Regions from separate parts of the Homo sapiens genome. Here all the other regions are linked to region 2. Evidence: promoter capture Hi-C in 16 types of primary human blood cells and fetal thymus (Javierre and others, 2016). All regions are on one chromosome and are shown on one strand. Each heading gives the region's core, a stretch centred on a gene start or on the middle of the fragment in contact. The rest is flanking DNA. Distances are from core to core; before and after follow the strand shown. Region 1 holds the start of PKIA (cAMP-dependent protein kinase inhibitor alpha). Region 2 holds the start of SNX16 (sorting nexin 16). Region 3 overlaps RBIS (ribosomal biogenesis factor).

Region 1 (4,111 bases), core at 1,447-3,946, 3.3 Mb before region 2:
TCATGTAGTTACTTCCTACAAGTACAGTATGGAAGGGATGGGCAATAACGTTACAGTAGAGAAACCTGACAAACACTGCCTCAGCCAGACAATCAAGGTCAACACATCACCAGTCATAAATCACATCGGTACTATAGCACCTTGATATGATGTGAGGAAAAGGGACTTTACCTCTTTCTTTCTCCTGCCAATAGTTCGCAACTCCAGTCTTATCATAAGAAAAGCATCAGACAAATTGCAACAGTGAGGCCTTCCAGCAAATACTTGACCACTACTCCTCAAAACTGTCAAGGTCATCAAAAACAAGAAAAACTATCACAGCTAAGAGGAGCTTAAGGGGACATGACAACTAAATTTAGTGTGGTATCCTGGATGGATGCCTGGAACAGATTTAAGGATATTAGGTAAAAACCAGGGAAACTTAAATGTAGTTAGACTTTATTTATAGTTAGTAATAATGTATCAGTATACATTCATTGATTGTAACCCAATGATATGGTTCAGATTTGTGTCCCTACCCAAATCTCATGTCAAATTGTAATCCCCAATTTTGGAGGAGGGGCCTAGTGGGAGGTGACTTGATCATGGGGGAGGACTTCCCCCTTGGCTTTCTGGTGGTAGTGAGTTCTCATGACATCTGGTTGTTTAAAAGTGTGTAGCACCTCCCCCTTCTCTTTCTCCTGCTCCAGCCATGTAGGCCCTGCCTGCTTCCCCTTTGCCTTCCACCATGATTATAGGTTTCCTGAGACCTCCCCAATCATGCTTCCTGTACAGCCTACAGAACCACCAGCCCTTCTTTATAAATTACCCAATCTCAGGTAGTTCTTTATAGCAATGCCAGAATTACACCAAGGTACCTTACTATTGTATGATGTCAATAGGAGACACTGGGAATGGGATATATGGGAACACCCTGTATTATTTCTTCAATTTTTCTGGACACCAAAGCTGAAAAATATAGTCTATTAAATAAAAAAAGTAGTGATGATTTGATTATAACATCAGTGTAGTGATAGAGATATCTATAAAAACAGCAATAAGGAATTAGCTGTTGTTTCTATTGGAAACAAAGTCCCAGGTACTCCTAACATTCTTGTGGTTTGTTGCCTACATTATGTTTAAAGGACATGCTAAATGCTAAATTTCAGTTAGAAGTTAGTGAAACTAAAAATGAGATTTTTCCCATTATACTTAATCTGTATAAAAGGAGTATATGAATAGAATTCCATTTATACAGATTAAGAATCTCCTGCTCTATGGTAATATTAACGGGCTAATGTTATGAAAGTGAGTCTCAGAGCGATGAATTAAGCTGTTCTAGCTTTCAAAGAGCATATATTCTATGACCAAGAATTCTAACTAAGTTTTGTTGGAAAGCTGTTGGCTACATTATCACCTAACTTTGGGACTGATAGATGGATGGAAACATCTCATTTAGCAAAGGTGCTTCCCTGGCCTTGTGCAATTGCACTGTTTAGGTTGCTGGACAAATCCATAGTGTAAAGCTGGCCTGTATCAAGTGACGGTCAATTCAAACAGCAAGGCAAGTTAAAAGAGGGAACTCCATTCCACAGAACCCTAGTGTCAAGGAACCTCCCGACTGGAAAATGACTCAACAGCTAGGCGGAAACCCTGGCTCAGCTACAAAGAGAGCAAATTTAGTCCCATTTTTCCTTAAACATTCAACCCTCAAACCTGAAGAGATTTGGGAAAGAAGCAAAACGGGAGGGTGGGGGAGAGAGAACAGTCTTGTTAACAGCTAGTGTTAATTTAAAAAGAGAAGGAAAGGGCTTATATGAATACATGCTTATTTCATTCCCAAAGCAAATTTTCATAAATCCTTAGGGAAAGAGAGATAGTCATTTGCTAATGTAGACTCTGCTTTTTGATTCCCAAATGTTACAGCTGTCACCACAACAGTTTGCCCAATTATGTGGCAGGGAGGGGAGGGGGTCCAGAGCAAAGGAAGTAGGAGGAAGAGATGTTAGAGGGAACATCTGTGCACAAGTGCACCATAAACACAACAAAATCATGGGGCCACCCCACTGTTTCTTTGAGCGCTTTCTCTGGTTGGCCCCACTTCTCCAGTCTTTTAGGAGATTCCCGTTCTATTACGTAGGTGAGAGGGCGAAAGGTTCTAGCTTTCAAAATTGTGAGTGGTTTGGCTGTGTGCATACGTGTGTGTGCGCGCGTGTGTGCGTGTGTGTGTGTGTTTGCGTGTGTGTCTGTTGGCGGGGGCGGGGGTGATGGAGAGAGCTATGAAGGGCTTAGAAAGCTTCATTACCAATTTAAAATGTTTTTGTAGTGCTTGAATGTTTATCTTAAAAGACAATTCCTGCTCTCAAATTCAGCCAAATGAACAATGCTGATAAGGAAGATGAAGAGGGTGGGAAACCCACAGGGGCAAATGGAACAGTCCATGCAGCCGGGGTGACGGGGGAGCGCTCGGAGGAAGGACGCTATGCAGAGAAAGCCCCCCTGGCTCTTCTCTCTCAATCCATAATCCAGCGATGCTGCAGCTGTAAAAGCATTAATAGAAAATCAATCCACAACCTCGCGGGGCAGCGATCGTCGAGCGCCGTTTCCAGGCTGCCTTCCCTGGGGTCGGGAGCGGCCCCGCTCCCCCCGTGGCTGGCGCGGAATGTGGTGATCCGTCCCGGGGCGGGGATGACTTCATGCAGCCGGAGCTCCGCGGCGGGAGCGGAGGCTGCTGCTGGCAGGTGGGGCGCGGGCCGGCGCGAGCTGACCGAGCACTCGGCGGGCGCGGCGGGACTGCGGCCCGTGGCGGCGTGCGCGGGGACCTGCGCTGACTAGGTCCGGGGAAGGTAAGCAGCCCGGCACCGGTGCGCCCTGGCCGCACTGCGTGGAGCTTTCCGCTTGGTTAATAATGGGGTTTGCAGCACGGAGGGAAGAAGGGGAGAACCCCGCTGCATTCTGCAATGAGAAAAGGAGCAACAACTAGGATGGAAATGTTGGGCGGCCAAGTGCAGAGGTTGGAGGAGCAGTGTTACTGGGCAAACAAAGAAGGCGTTCTTGCCTCTATACTCTTTTGAACGTGATCTACCATTTCAGTGCCAGATTCGCGTAGACAGTGAAGAGGACTCAAAATTTAAAATAATTTGAGTTACTCTTTTGCTTTCTGTGCCTTTTACCTTCGCTTGAGTATTTTGAGGATTTGGAGCAGTAGGTCCCTGGCAGCAGCCTGAGGTAATCAGAAATCGTCCCTCTTCCTGTAGTCCTTGGTCCTCTCCCTTTCCAGTTATCAGAATGGGTCTGTGCCCCTCTCAATGGCAAAACACCTGCTTCAAGACTGAACCTTTAGAAAGAGCCTCTATCTGGAGGGGAAACTTCTCTTATCTCCTGGAGTTCAGCTTGGGTTGAGCAGCACTTGACATCGCTTCTTCCTTCAATTGCCATTTTCTCTGTCAATCATTTCATTGATCTTTTTCGGAGATGCTGTGCCCATTCACAGACCAACTCTCGTCAGCTCTTATCCACCACCTGGGTTCCATGACTGATTTTGTCAAGGTCCCAAAAAGGGCATTGCCTCACACAGATTTCTTATTCGGTATTCTCCCTGTATACTGTTACCTGTGTCCTTCCCCCAAATGCATGGAATGAAATATCCTGCTTGTGGCCCTGTACCAACATGTTATCCCATTAACTCCCTTCGCTGTAGTCACTGTGGCTACTTGAAAGCTAGAGAGGACAGATAGAATCTACTGGAGTGTGAGGGATGTTCCCTATGCATAGGCATAGGTAGAAGTAAAAATGTGAATGCCAGTCCATCCAGTTTTTCTTGAAGCAATTTTAGTCCAGTTGGATTTTGAGACAGCTAGCTGTTAAGATTTGGGACAAATCCTTTCCAAAAGGCAGAGGAGTCCGTTTGCCTCTAGGATTCCTCAAGAACCTCAAAAGAGTTTCCAGTGAGGTTTTCCTCGTAGGCAGTCAGAAAGCCAATGGAGCTGCCCAATCTAAGCCTCTGGTTGAGTATCCTCTAGTTTGTCTTGCCATTTGCAGGTTCCTATCCCTCGTCCTAGGATTTTCCCCACAGACCCCTTGCTACTGAGCCCAAGTGCCTATCCTTGTTGCCACCTAGAGATGTACATTT
Region 2 (4,338 bases), core at 1,647-4,146:
AAAATTAATCTAGGCTATACAAAAGTATTGGGTGAATGGGTCCTGACTGGCAGAGAACCTAGAGCATTTAAGATTCTAGTAACGTTCTTTTCCTTGATTTATGTGCTATTAATAGTTACATAGGTGTGTCTGGTTTGTGAAAATTTATTAAGGTAAAGCAAAAGTTTACTACAACATGATAGAATTCAGTGGTGTAAAAACCATTAGAATTTCATATTCAAGAAATTATAAGTACAAGTTTACATTAATTTAACACTGGTTTGAACACAGAGATTAGCCAATCTTTCACTTTGTAGTGTTATACAGCAGAAGTCAATACTTACAGTAAATTTAGCTCTTTCTTCCATCACTTCATAACCCAGTATAGTAGGTGTAGATGGTCTATCTTCCCAATTCACTGTTTCCGGATTTTGTTCTTCAGTGTCTCTTGGTCTAGTAGAATACTCAATGGAAGAAGCTGTACCTGTAAATTTAGTCCTAATGAGGGGACTGCTACAGACAGATGAAGTATTATCCATTTGATCAGGAACACTTGTCTGTTTAAAATTACCCATATTTGAGTCTTCTAACTGGCCCTTAGAAGAATTTGAGCTTGTTGAGACACTGCCAAAAGAAGAACTTCTTTGATTTCTGTTTGTTGTAAAACTGGAAGCAGAGTTTCCTATGGGCATAGGAACTGGGACATAAGGAGTTGCCATCTTCTTTTGGCTTTTCCAACAAGCTTGCACACTGTTGAGTCCACTTAGAGAACAACTAATATGCAATCCATTATTTTCTTCTTAGGAATTCACTATCTAAAAATGAAAAGGACATATTAAAAGGTTAGTCTTTAATGTGCAGCAGGATTCAAAAGAAAAGTATTCTTTTCAATTTTATGACACTATTATTTTATTTGGAATGAAAACATACCTCAAACCCCTTCTCCCAGTTGTCTTTAAGGACTCCTATTTGCAAGATAGAGAGAGCAAAACTACTTCACACTCTTTTTCCTTGACTCCATGTTACATGTTATCCCTTTTTCCTCTACTTTATTCCCTTGTGAAGTATTTCTGTAAAGTTCATTTTAACCTGATTTCATGTATGTAAAAGTTGGTAGGAGAAAGATTGGTAAAGACCCTTCTGAAGCTTTATTCCATGCTTATCATCTTGACAGTACTACATTCAGTACAAGAGAGAAAAAAGAAAAGGAAGAAAACTATTTACATTACCTCTGGATTTAATCAGAAAGGGAGGAAATCTATTCACATTACCTTTCAATTTAATTAGTGAAACTATAAAGATTTACACAGAGTAGTAACAATGAACCAGATGCTTTGATGCTACATAGTATAATTCTATAGAACCCAGGATTAAAAATACACACTTGGTCAAGTTACTCAAATAAAACCCAGTGAACACTGAACTTATATGCAACAAAATTAAATAGTGAAAATTGTAACCGTTCTTCACAGCTTACAGGTCATCACTAATTCTGCTCTACGATAAACTGAGGGTATTTAAATCTTTATAACTTACACTCAAGAATCTGTTATCAAACGGACCAGTATATCTTGTGTCAGAATAGTATCATAACACAAAGAAGAAATGGTTTACTATTACTTTGTTAAATAATAAACTCATAAGAAACTGTAACAACTACAGACCAACAAAATGACAAGACTACACACAACAATAACTGCCCAACTTTTCATACGAAACTCTACTGGTGGGAAAGGTAAGAAATGAGTCACCTGGACTTGGAAAGATGCTGAAATAAGATTTTTAACTCTGGGCTGGGCGCTGTGGCTCACGCCTGTAATCCCAGCACTTTGGGAGGATGAAGCGGGTGGATCGCCTGAGGTCAGGAGTTCGAGGCTAGCCTGGCCAACATGGTGAAACCCCGTCTCTACTAAAAATACAAAAATTAGCCGGGCATGGTGGCGCAGGCCTATAATCCCAGCTACTTGGGAGGCTGAGGCAGGAGAATCGCTTGAACCCGGGAGGCGGAGGTTGCAGTTTGCCGAGATCGTGCCATTGCACTCCAGCCTGGGCTACAAGAGGAAAACTCCGTCTCAAAAAAAAAAAAAAAAAAGATTTTTAACTCAAGTGGCTCTCGGCAACATTTCCCCATTATCAAAGATTCATGAAACTTTAGCTGCTGATTCACCGCTCCTCGGTTCCGCCTGACGGCCTCCCCAAAAACAAGTAAGTCTGAAATCTCAACCTTCTCAAGGTCCGAGGGATCTACCTGGCCTTTGCCACTCTACTACCTGAGGCCGCCTGGCTGGGGGGAGGTCGCATATCAATACATATCAACACAACCACTGACGTCCGAAGATGTGAGCGCTACCCAAGCGTTAAAAAAACAAAACAAGCAAACAAACAAACAAAAAAACGTGCTGTGCTCATTAGGAGCGTCTTCGCCTCTACCCTGATGCGGAGTTGCTCCCAGGACGCTCAGTTCATTCTCACTCTGGAAAACCTCAGGTGAGGTGGCCCGACTCTGAGCAACCCCGTGGGCGGGAGGAAAGAGGCAAATACCAGGCACAGTTCGACCCTCGGAAGGTAAGGCCGGGGTCTGCGCCGGTCACGGGTCTTCCGCACTGCAGGCGGCGAGACCCGCAGCTCCCTGGGATCACAGACTCTCCCGCCTCCGCTGACCGGTGCGCGCCCAGCGCCTCCCAGACGCACAGTGGGGTCGGCGGTGGCCTGAAGGTGGCTGGGCTTCCTGCGGCGCCTCTCCACTCTCCCGCGGAGCCCCTTGCCGCCCGCCAGACATCAAGGTTGCAGGTGTCACCCGTACGAGAACCCGGGACAGCGACCGCCTGTCCTGAGGTAATGACCCAGTCTTTACCTCAGCCCCCTCGGCGATCCCGAACGAGCGCGCTTCCCGGTGACGGTTAAACCGGACTCTCCTTAACCGCAGCTTTTCGCCTCCTCCCTCAGCAGCGAGAAGCCTCACGTGACACCCCCGCCCCAAAAGCAGCTGCTCCCCGCCTCAGCCAGTCTCTGCCCGGGCCCAAGATCCCTGCTGTGTGGAAGGAGGGGCCGAACTGGGCGGGGGGGGGGGGGGGGGGAGAGAGAGAGAGAGAGAGGGAGGGAGGGAGGGAGGGAGGGAGAGAGAGAGAGAGAGAGAGAGAGAGAGAGAGAGAGAGACAGAGACAGAGAGAAAGAGAGAGAGAGAGGGCAAGAGCGAGAGACAGAGAGAGAGAGAGAGAGAGAGAGAGAGAGAGAGAGAGAGAGAGAGAGAGAGAGAGAAAGAGAAAGAAAACGAGCGAGGGAGAGAGCGAGAGCGAGAGAGAGAGAGAGAGAGCGTCACACACACATCTCTGCCGGAAGTGATGTCACGGCATGGGCGCCCGCCCACCGGAGGAGCGACTGGAGTTGATCGGCTGGGCGCTCAGGTAGCGAAGATAAATGTAATCTTGTGGCAGGAAATCGACATTCTCTGCACTATCTTTAGTTTTCCAACTGAACTTCTGAGAAATGGAGGCTACAATACCTAGTTTGCCAAACAGGAGAAGACTACAATTCCCAGAAGGAACTGCGACCAACATTGGTCCGTGCTCATACTTTGCATCATGGGACTTGTAGTCATCACCAGCTTGCGCTGATTCTAACAGGTTATAGATTGTTTTCTAGAATTAGCAGCGCTTTAAGGGATGACAATCGATTAGAAGAGTAGGAAGATAGAACACTGCTTAGTAGCTGATCCGTTCTACATAATTCAGAAGTTCTCATTGGCAGAGAACCCCTGAAATTCTGTAGTGTCTTTTTACTATCCGGTGAGCAATTTGATCCCGATGATGGAATATTAGCCTTGTTAGACATGCGCTTCTGAAGACCTGTGCAGTAGGGAAAGCCGAGTTTTTTGATAGGCAAATCCCAAGATTCAGACCGGTCTACAGGTCTGTTCATCATTAGAATCAGATAATGTGGTTGAAAAATCATTCCACGATTTCTAAGGCTTTTGTATAGTCCCAATGTTACCCATGGAGGGTCTTGACTACAAGTCATCCAGGTTCTTGGTTTTTTTAACAAAGAATTGGACAAAACGCACAAAGAAAGCAAGGAAAGAATGAAGCAAGGAAAGCAGAGATTGAAATGACTGTACACTCCACAGAGTGGGAATGGCCTCCAGCCAGTGGCTCAAGAGCCCTGGTTACAGGATTTTCTGGAGTTTAAATATCCGCTAGAGATTTCCCATTGGTTACTTGGTTTACACCCTCTGTAAATTAAGGAGTAGCCTGCAACCAATCAGAGGCTAAAGTTAAGTTACAAAGTTGTACTCCTATGGAAATGAAGACTAGGCCCAGATACCAAGGGCCTAGAAGGTTGGGCAGGGGGTTGCAAAGGGAA
Region 3 (3,784 bases), core at 1,237-3,736, 3.4 Mb after region 2:
TTGTTTTTAAAATGTGCCAATGCCTGTACATTAACAAGATTTTTAAAAATAAAATTGTATAAAACATTCAATTTATTGGTCTTTGTGGAGAATTAGATGCATCACCAGTATATTACAACAGAGCCATTAATCTTGTAGCTTCATCAACATTAACTGGTTTGCTTTCATGACGCTGCTGAGGAATCTGAAAGGAGAAAGTATTATATTTAAAAACACAGACAACAATAGCAGACAAATGACTTATATAAGCTGTTATTCAATTTAATTTTTCTAGTCATATCTTTGGAAGTAGAACAATCTGTATATTCTGACAATGTTTTAGAGTCTGAATATGCTATTTATACTATAGAGCCTAGTACTAGAGAGCCAAGTACTAAAAATTACACTCAACTTACAGGCTTTGAAAACTTGGGAGTTTAATTTATTAGCCTCAATTTGTTAGCCATAAAAAAAAGCAAATGATTTCTGCTTACCAGTTCTTTCTGCAGAGGTTCAAGTGAAATGCTTTTTGCGAAATGTGCAAGTTCCTTTTGTACATTTACAAAAGCTTTATTTACTCTGTTAACTTTTTCCTCATTCATAATGTTTATCTTTTAAAAAGAAAAAAAGCATTAATCTATGATCTCATAACCATTAAAGATAAGATATATTCAACCTTAACCTGTTAAATCTAAAATCTAAAAACTCTTACCAACAAATTAGGGATAATTCACTCAAAAATTCTTATAGTCTTATTGGGAAATTACAGACAAAAAGTTTTGGTTTTTAAAAAATGGGATTTATGTGGCTATGCCTCACACTTATGGTTCAGAAGGCTAAAATATGTGACTGTGATATTGTGATTCATAATAAGATATATATATATATTTGGTCTTTGTCCTCATTTCCTGTCATACAGCTTTTTAAATCATTGTATTAAGAGGGATAAGAGTGTCTTTTGAATGCTAATAAGATGGCTGGTAGCTGGGAGTCTCTAGATAGCTTCAGGAGGAGGGCTAGTCAGATAAAAACACAGGGTTAGAGGATTAGGACTTTCTGCTCCAGAGGAGTGGGGATAAAGGTTAAGCCCATCACTAATGGCCAATGATTTAATGAATTATGCCTACATAATGAAGCCTCCGGAAATCTACAAAAGAACTGGGTTCAAAGAGCTTCTGGATAGCTGAACACATGGGGGCTCCTAGAAAGTGGCATGCCCAGAGAGAGCAGGGAAGCTCCATGCCCCTTCCCATGTACCTTGCCCTCTGCACCTCTTCCATCTGGCTACGCATCTGTCCCCTTTGTAATATCCTTTATAATAAACTGGTAAAAGTATTTTCCTGGGTTCTGTGAGCTGCTCTAGCAAATTAATCAAACCCAAGGAGGGGGTCATGGGAACACTTATTTATAACTGGTTGGTGAGAAGCACAGGTAAAACATCTGGGACTTGTGATTGTCACTGGAAGTTGGGGAGAGGCTTAGGACTCAACTCTCAACCTGTGGAATCTGACGCTATCTCCAGGTCAGCAGTGTCAGATTTTAATTAAAGGACACCCAGCTGCTGCCTGCTGAAGATTCATCTGCAGAATTGTTAGGTGTGGGGGAACTGCCCCACAAATCTAGTATTGGAAGTGTTGAGTGACCGTATGAGAGTGAGAGTAAGAGAAACTGAGTTGCTTTTTTCCTGTATCCTTACAGTGACCAAAATCTTTCTAGGCTACAGTGCTGTCATCCCGCATCTATACAAGAAACCTGGATCAAATACTTTTAGTCCCTTCTAACATAACAATACGTCTCTGAATCCTTCCTGGACCTTCTTGTCTTAATGGAAGACCCCTGATGACAGCTTCCCTCGCAGTCCTCCTCTTGAGTTTAACAGAGGTAGGGGTGGTGCTCTTCTTCTTCACTGTTGCTGCTGCCAAACAATTTCTCCTTCAAAACCCTTACCTCCTTTGCACCTTATGCAGCCTACCCATAGATCTCTCTCTTAGATCCTACCTGGTGGCATATATAAAAGTTCTAGTACCTCCTGTCCAAATAAAATAATCTTCCTCAAATACACCAAGCTTTTCCCTAGCTCAGGGCCTCTGCACTTGCTATTTTTCTCTGCCTCGAACCCACCACTCCCAACACTTCCTAGCTCTTTGCATTGCTAGCTCTTTGTCATTCTAGTCTTGGTTTCAATGTGTCAACTATGAAGACCGTCCTATATAAACTGTCATCCCCAAAACCCCCATCATCTGCTTAATTTCATTCTTAGCATTTATAAAATCATAAAACTATTCAACCAAAAAGCTTAACTCCGCTAGCTCATGAAAGTTGAAAGATGAAATGTTAGATTTCTATGGACTATTATAATTAAACTGAGTCCTGGAGAGCTGACTCCATCTACTACTGAAACTTGAAAACATTTTCTTAAAAATTTTTCTTAAATCTTGTAGAAATTTCTCAGGTATTTTGAAATATAAACAAAGAAAAGAAACCCCTTTCAAATTGTGCATTTCAATAAATATTTTTTATCTTCATTTTACAGGTTTTTGTTTGAATTGCAGATGTCTTCAAAGATACAAGAATTACTGAGGAGAAAAAGAATGGGTGCTCACTGACATCCCATGTCTTGCCTCTATTAATACATTCTTACATTTGAGTTTAGAGATAAGAACTGTTTCCCATACTATGGTTTTTAAATGAGTTCTATGGTTCAGTAAAACTATTAAATTGAAGCTTCACACATTTGTAGTTAAAATGTTTATTTCTTTTCAACATTTGTTTTCAAGAAAGGGAGGTTATTTTTCTTCCTTTTTTTTTATATTTTTTTAGACAAATGCTTGAAACCATCCTTACCTTTCTAGGAAAAATGAAGAACCTTTTTAAAAAGTAATAGTATACAGCTGTTCAGTAGCTTACAATGACACTTTGCTTGTAAACAATAAAGTCAGAGTGCTTAACTAATACTCACCTTCTTAAGATTAGTGGTAACTGGTTTTGCTTTGTTTTTAGCCTTAAAGTTTTTTTGGCTGGCTATGTGAAATACATTCCTGGACTTCGGCCCTCTTAATTTGTTCTTGGCCATTGTCTAGAAAAGAAAATAAATTCAATTAAATTGCCCACATTTATGAACCGTAAGTCAATTTTAAGTTTTTAAAGGTACCAATTAAATCTAAAAAATTCTATCTTACTCTTGATTATTTTTAAAGTTGGTGCATATATTATTTCCAAGTCTTTCACTCCTAGTAGATTTTCTGCTCTTTGAGTACAGAGTATGTATCTAATTCTTCCCTGTATCCCCAGTAATGGGCCCATAGGAGGCATCCAATTAATATCTGCTGGTTGAATTCACTAATATCATCAACACAATAACTGTTATTCTCAGCAGTACCTCACCACCCATCCTTCTGTTAGTCTATATACTACTATGCTATTCTGGTTCCTATCATACTTTAGAGACTGATTCTGCCTCCTTCTTGACTTCTTTTTTATTCCTTTTTACTCTCCCCACTTTCTCTCCTGTGCATCCCATCAAAATCAGTCCTTAATCCTCCATTTCCTACCTCCCTCTCTCCCTTAATTTACTTTTATGACTTCCATATTACCTCTATGTGAACGGCCCTTGCCTTGAAGTGTTGGATACTGTCTTTCCTCCGTAGCTAGAGATGCATTAAGCCAGTAAATTCTACCTTAAAACATCTCTCAGATCTGCCTTTAATAATGTATATGAGGAATAATTTTTAAAATATTAAGTTAACACATATTGAGCTTTTATTATATGTACAAGCACTACACTTATGTGCTTTAACTCATTTAC

The links. Contacts are between HindIII fragments. The CHiCAGO score rates a contact against its expected background, and 5 or more counts as called.
Region 1: the fragment with the promoter of PKIA here is called in contact with the fragment with the promoter of SNX16 in region 2 in 2 of 17 cell types (total CD4 T cells and fetal thymus); the score reaches 8.1 in total CD4 T cells.
Region 3: a fragment that was not itself captured here is called in contact with the fragment with the promoter of SNX16 in region 2 in 1 of 17 cell types (activated CD4 T cells); the score reaches 5.2 in activated CD4 T cells.

Annotation. Positions count from the first base shown.
Region 1 is chr8:78,513,644-78,517,754 of GRCh38, forward strand. It overlaps PKIA (cAMP-dependent protein kinase inhibitor alpha), which reads left to right and starts at 2,697. Exons shown (of 4, transcript NM_006823.4): 1 at 2,697-2,825. All of the region lies in intron 2 of LOC105375911 (a long non-coding RNA gene), which reads right to left. RefSeq lists a silencer at 2,642-2,941 and an enhancer at 3,262-3,371. The HindIII fragment of the contact is 11,771 bases long and covers 2,274-4,111 here.
Region 2 is chr8:81,839,289-81,843,626 of GRCh38, forward strand. SNX16 (sorting nexin 16) reads right to left here and starts at 2,897. Exons shown (of 8, transcript NM_152836.3): 1 at 2,834-2,897; 2 at 324-794. The coding sequence starts at 698. It overlaps LINC02235 (long intergenic non-protein coding RNA 2235), which reads left to right and starts at 3,331. Exons shown (of 8, transcript NR_170320.1): 1 at 3,331-3,383. RefSeq lists enhancers at 1,971-2,903, 2,831-2,880, 3,312-3,581 and a silencer at 2,451-2,500. The HindIII fragment of the contact is 7,243 bases long and covers 1,124-4,338 here.
Region 3 is chr8:85,214,448-85,218,231 of GRCh38, forward strand. RBIS (ribosomal biogenesis factor) reads right to left here. Exons shown (of 4, transcript NM_001099673.3): 2 at 2,939-3,055; 3 at 474-590; 4 at 1-184. The coding sequence starts at 3,052. The coding sequence ends at 113. E2F5 (E2F transcription factor 5) reads left to right here. Exons shown (of 8, transcript NM_001951.4): 8 at 1-71. Among named protein-coding and RNA genes, the nearest start is that of RBIS, 4.0 kb to the right of the region's middle. The HindIII fragment of the contact is 429 bases long and covers 2,273-2,701 here.